2 separate regions of the Homo sapiens genome follow, and region 1 is linked to region 2. Evidence: promoter capture Hi-C in 16 types of primary human blood cells and fetal thymus (Javierre and others, 2016). All regions are on one chromosome and are shown on one strand. The core of a region is centred on a gene start or on the middle of the fragment in contact, and the rest is flanking DNA. Distances in the headings are between cores, read along the strand shown. Region 1 overlaps LOC105377276 (a long non-coding RNA gene). Region 2 holds the start of BTC (betacellulin).

The links. The method cuts DNA at HindIII sites, captures the fragments that hold promoters and counts their contacts. A CHiCAGO score of 5 or more calls a contact.
Region 1: a fragment that was not itself captured here is called in contact with the fragment with the promoter of BTC in region 2 in 1 of 17 cell types (endothelial precursors); the score reaches 5.2 in endothelial precursors.

The regions. Positions count from the first base shown.
Region 1 is chr4:74,329,523-74,334,923 of GRCh38, reverse strand. It overlaps LOC105377276 (a long non-coding RNA gene), which reads left to right. Exons shown (of 3, transcript NR_188415.1): 2 at 4,620-4,726. Among named protein-coding and RNA genes, the nearest start is that of EPGN, 24 kb to the right of the region's middle. RefSeq lists a cis regulatory region at 4,138-4,437. The HindIII fragment of the contact is 1,402 bases long and covers 1,456-2,857 here.
Region 2 is chr4:74,791,788-74,797,831 of GRCh38, reverse strand. It overlaps BTC (betacellulin), which reads left to right and starts at 3,309. Exons shown (of 6, transcript NM_001729.4): 1 at 3,309-3,570. The coding sequence starts at 3,507. The HindIII fragment of the contact is 1,569 bases long and covers 2,703-4,271 here.

The sequences.
Region 1 (5,401 bases), core at 907-3,406, 460 kb after region 2:
TAGGGACAGGTCCCCGGTGAAAGCCGACCTTCAAGCCAAAGACAGCCTGAAGCCTGAAAACCCAGCAGACAGTTCTGGATAGCGTCCAAGACCAGAGTGAGAATACCCTCAGCGCATTTTAGCCAGTCAAATGGTGCTTTTTCCACGCCTCCCCATGGACCAGTCAGAATGCACTCTCCTCTTCTGAGCCATTGAAAACCCTGAACTGAGCCATACATTGGATTACTCACTTTCTGGGCCCCCTCTCACGCAGATGACTTCCCTCCCTTGGGTCCCCTCTCCACTGACAGCTTTCCTTCTGTTGCTCAATAAAATTCTTCTCCACGCTGCTTACTCTCCACTGTCTGCGTACCTAATTCCTCTTGGTTGCAGGACAAAAACCCAGAACTCGCCCTGTGGGCAGCGGGAACAAACGAGATATAACACAAATGAACTGTAAAACGAATGATCTGTAACACGCCCCCGTTTGCCATGTTGCAGGCGGCAGGAACGCGAGGGAGCTGTAACATCTCTTGGTGGCTCAGACCTCAGGACTCCTTGGGTGAGAGCCATAACACCACTTGGAGCTCCGCAGTTGCTTGCCACTCCTAGTTTTTGGGCACCACTACATCCCCCTCATCCAGACACCAGTGCCCAAGGTGGAAGCCAGTTGCGACATGCCTGGACCAATAGCAAGCTGAGTGCAGAGCTGCAGCGGGAGCAGGTTCTGGGCTGGTAGCGCGAGCTGAGTGTAGCCCACTGGGTTGAGTGGGCAGAGCAAACCCTGTGGTCATGAGCGAAGCTGGGGCAGAGACGCCACTGGCTATGAGATTTCCGGCTGGCTAAGTACCCCCAAAAAACTCCTGTAACACAGTAACCGCTCCCTCCTGCTGGTGGAGCCACAGGGAAGAAAAGAAGCTGCTTGGGTGCCATTCCCTCTGCATGCTGAACAACAGAATCCTGTGTCACTAGTTTATGCTTAGAAAATATGTGAAGTGATACAAAATAATTTTTATCTCTGAAAAGTATAACTAGTGGTTAGGAAACAATAATGGAAGGAAGTACTACCATTATCTGAATACCCTTTTTATTATCCTTTATATCATGTTCATATACGATCTATTACAAGGGAACTGTTTTTTCCTTTTTGAGACAGTCTCACTCTGTCACCCAGGTTGGAGTGCAGTGACAAGATCTCAGCCCACTGCAACCTCCAACTTCCGGATTCAAGTGATTGTTGTGCCTCAGCCTCTCAAGTAGCCAGGATTGCAGATATGCACCACCACACCTGGCTAATTTTCATATTTTTAGTAGAGATGAGCTCTTGCCATGTTGACCAGGCTCGTCTCAAACTCCTAGGTTCAAGTGATCTACCTGCCTCAGCCTCCCAAAGTGCTGGGATTATGGATGTAAGCCACTGTGCCCGGCTCTGTTTTCTCAGAAGCTTAACAGGCATACAATTTTGAAAATTAAGCTTGATAATAATATTCTAACTTTACCTGAACTCCAAGCATTTTATATAGCTGTACTTATTAAATATATGTATTGGACTGGTTCTAAAAGAGGAAGAGTGAGCAATAAAATAGGACTTGATCTTGTAAATATGAATACAAAGTAAATATATATAGTATACATTTTTTGCCTTACTATATATAATAAATAGATACGTGACAAATGAGTCATGATAAATTTAAAAAGAACTAAAATTTTCATCTTGCTATACACAGAATCTTTAAAAAATAAAATAAGTCAACTTTTTTGTGTGTGAATGGAAAAACTTCTAAAGCAAAAATAACTTGTGGTAAAGATCTTTCTATGTGAAAATATCACTTTTAAAATTATGTATTTCAAAGAGAAATATAGACTAAATAAAAATGGGGAAATGACTTGGAATAAGCATTTGCAACACAAATGTTAAAGGGTTAATATTTGAAGTGTTTTAAATTTTTTATATCTAAATTAAAAAATCATTCAACCTAATAGATAAATAAGCTGTGAAGATGAACCGACATTTTACTAAACTAGAATGACAAATGTCCAAAAAACAAAGGAAAATATTCAATCTTACTTGAAACAGAAGATGCAGCTAATTTTACTCCATTCTGAGATGAGTTTTACCTGTCTTTGTTCATTATGTAACCTTGCAGCACAGATATAAGAAATCATTCTCATAAAGGTTTCAATTTTATGATCAATATTTTTCATGACAGTTTTAAGAGACAGGCAGCTATACTTGGGTATTTCTAGGTGAGCGTCCTCCATTTTTCAACATTCTCCTTAAAATCATTACAGTACTTGGTTATGTTAATATGTTTCTATTTAATCCAAGTGTAATCTGCATTTTATAGGCCTTGACAACTTTTGGGTCACAATAACAGAAATATCTCCCGTCTTTTGCTCTTTGCTGGGTAGTCACCTGAAGTTTTTCTTCCCCTTTTTCCTCCCAGCTTTCTCTCTCCCTCCCTTTCTTTCTTTACTCCTGCCTTTTTTTTTTTTTTGGATAAATTTTAAAAACGTAGAACAGTCCAAAGATTTATCTACTCAAAATTTATATACCCACCTTGTAAATTGTAAATTTTTAATATTTGCTTCCAGTTCTTTTTAACATATGAAATTAGATAATATAGATAAAATACCTAAACTTATATAGTATTTTTTTCTTACTATGCTCTGTTCAATGTGCTTTCCATATATTGAAGTCATAACTCCATATGTAACTAGTATATTAAATCACCTATTAGCTAATCCTTATAACAATTTTATGAGTTAGTTCTACTATTATCCCCATTTTATGAATGAAGAAACTGAGGTGAAGAGAGCTTACATAGCTTTCCCAAGGTTCATGTATTGTAAATGGTGGCACCAAGAAACCCAAGCTTTGTAGCACTGGAGTCCCTGCTTTTAGTTTCTCTCCTATTTTAAAAGTGATACATAGTACTTCTCCTTAAGACATAAATATTTAATGATATTAATAGTTAACTATATCTTTTACAGTCATTCTTAGTTTTTATAATTTTGTAACATGGTCTCTTTTTAGTCAATATCTTTGTTCTTTATTTGAACAAGACAAGAATTTAGCACACCGGAACTCCTTTCTAAATTTTCCCTCCAATCTTCCTTTATTATTGTTGTCTGGTGTTTAAGTTTCACATTGTTAATTTGTAAATGTTGTCACAAATTAATTTTAATTTCTACTCAATTGACAAACACATATCTCTGACTTCCTTGCTCATCACTGATACTTGCATGGTATTTTTTTCTCCTGGGTTCTTGTTTCATCTTGCTGAAATACATTCACTGGCAGTCTTCAGTATCGTTTAGAGGTGATATGGTTTGTCTCTGTCTCCCTACCCAAATCTCATGTTGAATTGCAGTTCTCAATGTTGGGGGAAGGACCTGGTGGCAGGTAATTGGATCATGGGGGTGCATGTCCCCCTTGCTGTTCTCATGATAGTGAGTGAATTCTCGTGGGATCTGGTGGTTTAAAAGTGTGTGGCACTCCCACTTCTCTGTCTCTCTCATGCCACCATGTAAAGACATGCTTGCTTCCCCTTCACCCTTCCACCATGATTGTAACTTTCCTGAGGCCTCCCCAGGCATGCCTCTTGTACAGCCTGTGGAACTGTGAGTTGATTAAATCTCTTTTTATAAGTTACCCAGTTTCAGGTAATTCTTTACACCAGTGTGAGAATGAACCAATACAAGAGATATTAAACTCTTAGTCTTTTGTAGATACAGAATATTATAAGCTCTACGTTCTTCAACTTAGACTTTGCTGGGAAGGACAATAGGAGTTTACAAGCCCTAAGGATGAGTTTAATGGGGAAACTTGAAAAAAATTAGAAGACAACTACCATTAGTCTTTGGAAAGGTAAACCTCTGATTATAACATAGATTATATAGAAAAAAGAAAGTAAGCAAACATTAACCGGTGAATTACTACAAAATTACATTAAATTTATTGTTTGTTTTCTTAGGATCTCACTGTGTCACTGCAGTGGGATAATTTAGGAATCAGAGAGACTGAGGGGCCGGAGAGGATATATATTATTTATTATTTAGGTGCACTGGCCTAGTCAGATTAGCATCCAAAAAGACTGAGCCCCGAACAAAGAGTGAGGTTACCTTTTAAGCATTTCATGGGGCAGCGGGAGATCTTTGCAGGGGGAAGCATATTACAGAAGTGAGAAACAAAGACCGTTATTCAATTGAGACACTCATTACATTATTTCTAACTTTTCAAGGAAAAACATGTTTTACGACTTGAGTTTATCTGCCTAGTAACCTTGCAACTGCACAGTTAGAGAAACAGGATCTTCGCAATGCCTGGGAAAGAGAGAGATAAGACTCACAAGCCACAGACAGAAAAACAGGCGTTAATTTTTAAAGGACTCCACCTCTTTTTCTTTCTCAGGGGGAATTGGGTTTTTTTACATACAACTGAGTTTTCGCTTACACGTTCTTTAATTTCTTTTAATTCCTGTTTCATCACCAGGCTGGAATGTAGTGGTGCAATAACAGCTCACTGTAGCCTCGACCTCCTGGGCTCAAGCCATCCCCAACCTCACCCTCCCGAGTAGCTGGGACCACAGGCGTGTGCCACCACACTCAGCTAATTTATTTAAAACAATTTTTTTTAGAGATGAGGTCTCCCTTTGTTGCCCAGCTGGTCTGAAATTCCTGGTTTCAAGTGACCCTCACACGTCAGCCTCCTAAAGAGGTGAAGTTATAAGCATGAACCATTGTGGTAAGTCTTTGTTTGTTTTTTATATTATCATCATAAAGTTGAGTTTCTCTTTCCATATGTTTGCTAAGAAGAATAAAATAATTTATAAATTTGGTTGATTTATAATCCTGAGTCACAAAATGTTTGTTTAAAAAACTATATCTGTTAAAATATTTGTCCTAGAAAACTTTGCATTTAAACTTTGTCTGTCCTTGAAAAAAATGTGAAATTAACTTGTTGTATAGACCATGGTTGAATTTTTGTAGCTTCAATTATACATAAGTGGTTTGAGTTTACTTGTTAGAAATACCAAGATCCTTTGTGGCTGTGGCTGAATGTCTATTTTTTTGTTTTTACTATCAAAGGTGGTAGAATTCTATGTTAACAGAGATTTCCCCTGAGTATTTTGAACACTTTATTCCATTGTGTTATGGCATCTACTTTCACTGATGAGAAATCTACTGCCATTATAATTAACTAGTTTTCTTTTTTAGTAATATTTCTTTTTGTGTGTATGGCTTTGAAGTTTTTAAACTATGTTTTTTAAACTAAGTTTTAAGACTATGAATACAACTTCAATTTAAAGATTTATATCCTGCTTTCATTCTGAAAGTTCTCAGCCATTATCTCTTAGATATTTCCTCTAACCTAGCCTTTCCTTCTGGAACTCATGTTGGGCTTTTTTTTTTTTTCTGA
Region 2 (6,044 bases), core at 2,060-4,559:
GGTTTAATAACATATGTTAAGCTGCCATTTAAAAGAGATAGCAAGTCAGCCGGGCGTGGTTGCTCACGCCTGTAATCCCAGCACTTTGGGAGGCCGAGGTGGATCTCCTGAGGTCAGGAGTTCGAGACCAGTCTAGCCAACATGGTGAAACCCCATCTCTACTAAAAAAAAACCACAAAAAATTAGCTGGGTGTGGTGGCAGGTGCCAGCAATCCCCAGCTACTTGGGAGGCTGAGACAGGAGAATTGCTTGAACCCGGAGGCAGAGGTTGCAGTGAGCAGAGATCACGCCATTGCACTCCAGCCTGGGGGACAAGAGCAAGATTTTGTCTCAAAAAACAAAATAAATAAAAATAAAAGAGATACAAATCAAACACATTGAGAAATACATATAAAAAGTGGATCCCCTAGACTGAAGAGGAAGATACAAGAAAGTAGGCAGGAAAAAAAATAACTACCTCCCTCAGAACAACTAGATTATAAAATACAATTACCTGAATACAACTTTTGAGCAGTGATTTTTCACTGATACATTCTTAGAAACCAATTCAGTAGTTTTAAATAAAATATTTGAAAGTTCTCTCTATGTAACTGTACCACTAATAATCTACAATGCATGATGCTTATCATTACTATAAAAATTACAATTTTAAAAATGCCTTTCATCATTTTCATTCACCCACTCTTATTAAATAAAGTTAATGGTCATTAGGAAATTTTCCTATACTACTGAATGCCTTAAAGCCTTCATTTGGAGAATACATGTTGGCCTAGAAGGAATGCATTCCAAAATTTTCCTTTCCATCATGGCGTGTGTCTGTTTATGTGTTGTGCCCTATATGTAACTACAAGTTTATTTTGTCCTGTCCAGAAGACGGGGAGGACGGTCCCAGCTGCAGGCTGTTCTGTGTGGGAAGAGAAAAAGGCTGATGCTTAAAGGCCCTCCAAAGGAATCTACTTAAGCCTCATACCAGATTTGGGAGGACTGGTTATACCTGCCTAAACCTGGCACAGGAAGAACAGCACTCAAGCAATTCCTACCTTGGGGTTAACTAGGAATACAAGTTTCACCTTGTGACTCTGGTGTAACTTTGGTTTATTTTTCTCTTAGTAACAGCTCAGCTTGCAAATGAAAGCACTGAGACGCAACTCAGTTACATGTTTGAGGACTCAGGAAAATCAATTCTTACCTTCCACTCTTCCAAATGTAATGGTTGTATTCCAGCTTTACCATGCCCCATAAGCAAATGACTTGAGAGAGAGAGGTGGTTGGGGGCTGGGGGAGAAAAAGAAGAAGGAGAAGGAGAGGGAAGAAGAGGAGGAAGAACAGAGAGAAAGAAAGTGAGGGGAAAAAAAAGAAACAAACAAAAAAAGACAGGAAAAGTCTCTTAACATTGAAGAGATTGGATATCCAGTGTCAGAAAATTTGGATTTTCTTGGGAGTACTTATTTTATTTATGGTGGTAAATAAAGCCCTCAAGGAAGGTTATTAATTTATCTGTCCTATTTAGTATATTAAATTATACTACTTCATATTCTAGTGGCCTGAAAAAGTTAATTTACCACTTGAATGGCATAAATGATGAATACTTACACCAAGTCCTGGAATTTTCCAATGCTCAACAAACATTTAGTACTTTTTGTTTAGGTCTCGCTTTTTTTTTTTTTTATTAGTATCTACGAAAAAGGAAAACAAAATTGTAGCATTCTGTTGGGGCTAACAGGACAGCTGTTGGCTAGGCTAAATGCCATCTTGGAGTAAGAGATACTTTAACTTAGGGCACTGGTGCTGAGAGATGGAGAGAATATCAGAAAAGAAAAATGCAGGGTGGAAGTGTTGAGAGGGAGGGAGATGATGTCAAAATCCATTGGCTTCCAGTGTTTCTGCTCTTTTTAGCTGGGGTGCAGTAACCTTCCATCTTACAACTTTGGGTTTCTTTAAACTTCATGCCTGCCCTCTCTACCAATGTTTTATGAGCTGTCATGTGGGACTAGAATGGGATTCTGAAAATTAAGAGCTGATTTTTATTCCACCGGATATATCAGTTGCCTGGGGCAGTAAAATAATTTAGTTTTGAAATGAAATGTTATTCGTGGGAGACAAGTGCACAACAATTTACTTAACTTAAACAGTAGGATGAGGAGGAAGAGGCAGACACCCAAACTACATTTCATATGTAAAATAAGGCTTACATGACTTTTGGATGCTATAGAAATAAAATTTCTGTACTGAGGGGCATAATTATCCACATAAATCTTATATGAGGAACACAGACCAGTACAAAAGCAGCTGTATCTTTTGGTTATCTTGGAGGCAATATATAACCACATAAGGTAAAATTGGATGCTGCTTGCTTTCTCTAAAAGCTGTGAGGATGTCTTTCTGTTCCAGAAATTGCTTAATGCAAGTAAATGAAAATATACTGAATACATGAGTAAATTCATAAACAGAAATACAAATGAAATTTCTAAAGTAGGTCCTGGTGAGCCCCAATTTTATGAATTATTAGAAGACAATGCACCCAGAAACTAAGACACTAGCTTGAAGACTTTTTTCATTTCTTTTCTTTTTTTTTTTTTTTTTTTTTGTTGCTGATGTTGTTGTTGTTGTTGTCGTTGTTTTGAAACAGTGTCTCACTCTTGCGCCTTGGCTGGAGTGAAGTGGCTCGATCTAGGCTCATTGAAGGCTCCATCTCCCAAGCTTAAGCGATCCTCCCCACCTCAGCCTCAGGGAATGGATGGGACTGCAGGTGCACACCACCATACCCGGCTATTAATTTACTTTTGTATTTTTTGTAGAGACGAGGTTTCGCTATGGCTTCAAGACTTTAAAAGGCAACAATGACTCTTTTGAAATTGCCTGCATTATCAAATGCCTGAAGTCAACCACAATGAATGGTGAGTCTGGTTTCTCCATGACACTAGCAATCCTCTGAAATAAAGGAAGTTAGAATTCCAGAACACGTTTGGGTCTCTGACTCTTCCTCGGTGGCTTCCAGGAGTTTAGGTCAGCCTGCAGGCCCGACCGGAACCCCCGACACCCCTCCACGCGGATTCTTTACATCTCCCTCCCTACCTTGTTTACGCCCTAGGGGGTAGGGAAATGAACAGTCAGTCAGGTGAGACCCAGCAGGGGGAGTGGTGAGCTGGTCCGAGGGCAGCCCGAATATGTCCCTGGGTGTGGGTATGGGTGTGGGGCAATTTGGGTGGGAGCAGCGTGGAGGCTCCCAGGACCAAGTCCTGCGCCTCTTTGGCGGGGTGTGTGCAGGAGGAGGGGGGATAAATAGGAGGCTCCCTCCTCCCGGCGACATTCACGGAGCCGGCCGGCCTCCCGCCCTGGGTGTTTCCCTGCCTTGTAGCCAGGGTGCCAGCCTGGGAAGTAGTTTCGTTTCCTTCTGCCTCCGGGATTAGTTTCCAGGCACCCTCTCAGGCGCCCGAGGCCCGGGAAGGGGGCGAAGAAGGAGGGAGACTTGTCTAGGGGCTGCCCGGCCCGGCAGAGCGGGGTTGATGGACCGGGCCGCCCGGTGCAGCGGCGCCAGCTCCCTGCCACTGCTCCTGGCCCTTGCCCTGGGTAAGTGGCCGTGCTGGGCACTGGAAACCAGGAGGAAAGTCTGGGGCTGGAGTCGCGGGGAGGGCGAACCCTGAACCGAGCTGGCATCTGGACAAGAGGGCGCGCTGGGGCTGGCAGGCGCGGGTTGGAGAACTTTGAAGGCTGGGAGAGCGCGAGGTTAAAGATCTGGCAATTGGGCACCTGGGGCTGCACCTGCTGGAGGCAGTCCCTAGACGCGTGAGAAGGCCCGAGGGCGGAAGCGATTCCGAGGTCCTCGCTGCCAGTGCTGCGAGCAGGCCGCCAGCTGCTGACTTGTGCGCACAGCAGAGGGCCTGGCGGCGCCGGCGGGCTGTCCACCGGGGTGAGGCGCTGTGCTCGCAAGTGAGGGTCGGGGGGTGGGGGCAGGGGCGAGCAGGGAAACCCACTAAAGAAGCTCACGTGGTAGTATAGACCAAGAAGCATATCCTGCAGGAGGCAGAAGAACGGGAACTCTTTGACTGAAGGTGTGATCACCTGGCGTTAGGGAAGAGTGCCAGCGGGAGGAGGAGTAGCAGGATGCCTAGAGCCCTCCAGAGGGTCTCTCCTGCCTCCTTAGGAGTCAGAACTCACAAAGCAGAGCTGGAACTTCAGATGTGGCTGGAAGCAGGCTTCCCCTTCCCCTCCACCGAGGGAAGGTAGTGAGAAGGCTTCTAAGTAGGAAAAAATCCCAACTCTTCAAAGCTTGCTCTCTGCATCATGGTCATTTTGCGGGGCAGAGAAGGGAAGGGAAACCAGTAACATTTTCTAATCTTAGCTGGGCTGTAGACACATCTGGGTTTGGAGCATTTATGTGGTAGGAGGAGAGTCTCCACAGCTGAAGTGTCACCACGATATCACTCCTACCTTCAAGCCTGGGAAGGGGACACCACAAATGAAAAAGAATGGGAATTCCTCTTATTGAGGAAAGAGAGGGGGAGCCTAAATGAAAACTTTCATTTGACTGTGTCCTTGGAGTAAGAGAGGTGGCTAAAAAGGTACAGTGAACTTGCTTGGAGGTGGATCAGACTTAGGACCAAGGTTAGAGAAAATAAACTTATTTAACAAACGCTGAAGAGGAAGGAGTCAGTAACAATTTAGTGGTAGAGTGAATGTGTACATTCATGAAGAAGAGCAATGGGGTTGAGACTTAACCCTAGAAATAGTACTGATGCTTTTGCCAGCATTGCTTGCAAGTAGCTGACATTCTCTTCCTCCACCGTGTCTAAACTATCCAACAGTCAAAGTATTCCCTGAGAATCTGTCGTAGTCAGCAAGGTGCTGAGGTATGTAGCAATGGAGGTGGGGAAAGGGCTCATGAGATTCCTAAAATAAAACATGATTCCTGCCCTAGAACTTGCACTGAATTTGGATATGCAAGCCCAGCAGGGTAACCTGTGGAAAAATTCACGGAATCAGAAAAGGGAGAAAGAGCTCAACAGCGGGGGCTGGAATAGTGGGGAAAGGCTGAATGGAGGACACGAATGCGTGCCTTGAGGCTTGGGTAGAGTTTGCAATAGTAGAGAGGAAAGAGGGAACAGAGACAAGGGAAAAAGCATTTAGTAAAGGGTTGGCGATGCGAATGAGCATGCTTTACTGGAAAGAGTAGAATTTCTGAGAGGCAGACAGATTATGAAGAACTGAAAAAGCCAGATTAGAATATTTGGAACAGAATCAATAAGCTATTAAACACACACCATCACAGGGCTTGACTGGGAGTGATATGATGCAAACAATGGTTTAAAGGTGATAAATCTGTCAGTGAGGTGCAGTATAGGAAGGGGGGGCGCCTGTGGGCCAGAGGACCTGATTGTCTCGTAGGTATAATCTGGGCATGAGCTACTTGGGGCCTAAATTAGGGTGATGTTTTAGCAGAGGTGTCATAGTAGAAATGACTATTGAAAGTCGATGGACATTCTTTCCCCTTTACTATCACAAAACTTGTCAAAAGACAGAAATGAAAATCAAAAAGCAAAACTCGAATCCAGTGCTATTGTACACTCAGGGTAACCTAAATGTACAACCGCCCTGTTAAATGATTGGCTTGGGAAATTGAATTTGGTCTCTAGATCCCCTTAAAGCTCTATTTCTTGCAAAATGCTAAGGAACGTAATTTGTTGGCATCGCTGTTTCCATTAAGTGGCCCTATTTCTGTCATACACACTTTACTTTTAAGTCCCCTTCCTAAATTATGTCACATGTTGTTCTATTTACTTTTTGAAAAGAATGTGAGCAATAAGATGCATGAGACACTAGTGTTTGTGTGTGTGTGTGTGTGTGTGTGTGTGTGTGTGTGTGAGATGGTGGAAATGCGATGAGAGTGGGCATTGAGCAGACATGAGCCCTGGTTCCAGCTCTACCACTTCATGACTCCGAGATGTCTGTAAGTTACAACTTTCTGGGCATTGTTTTTCTAATTTGTAAAATGAAGAGGTTTCATTAGATGGTGATGCCCTTTCCATGTCACATTCTTTTCAAAA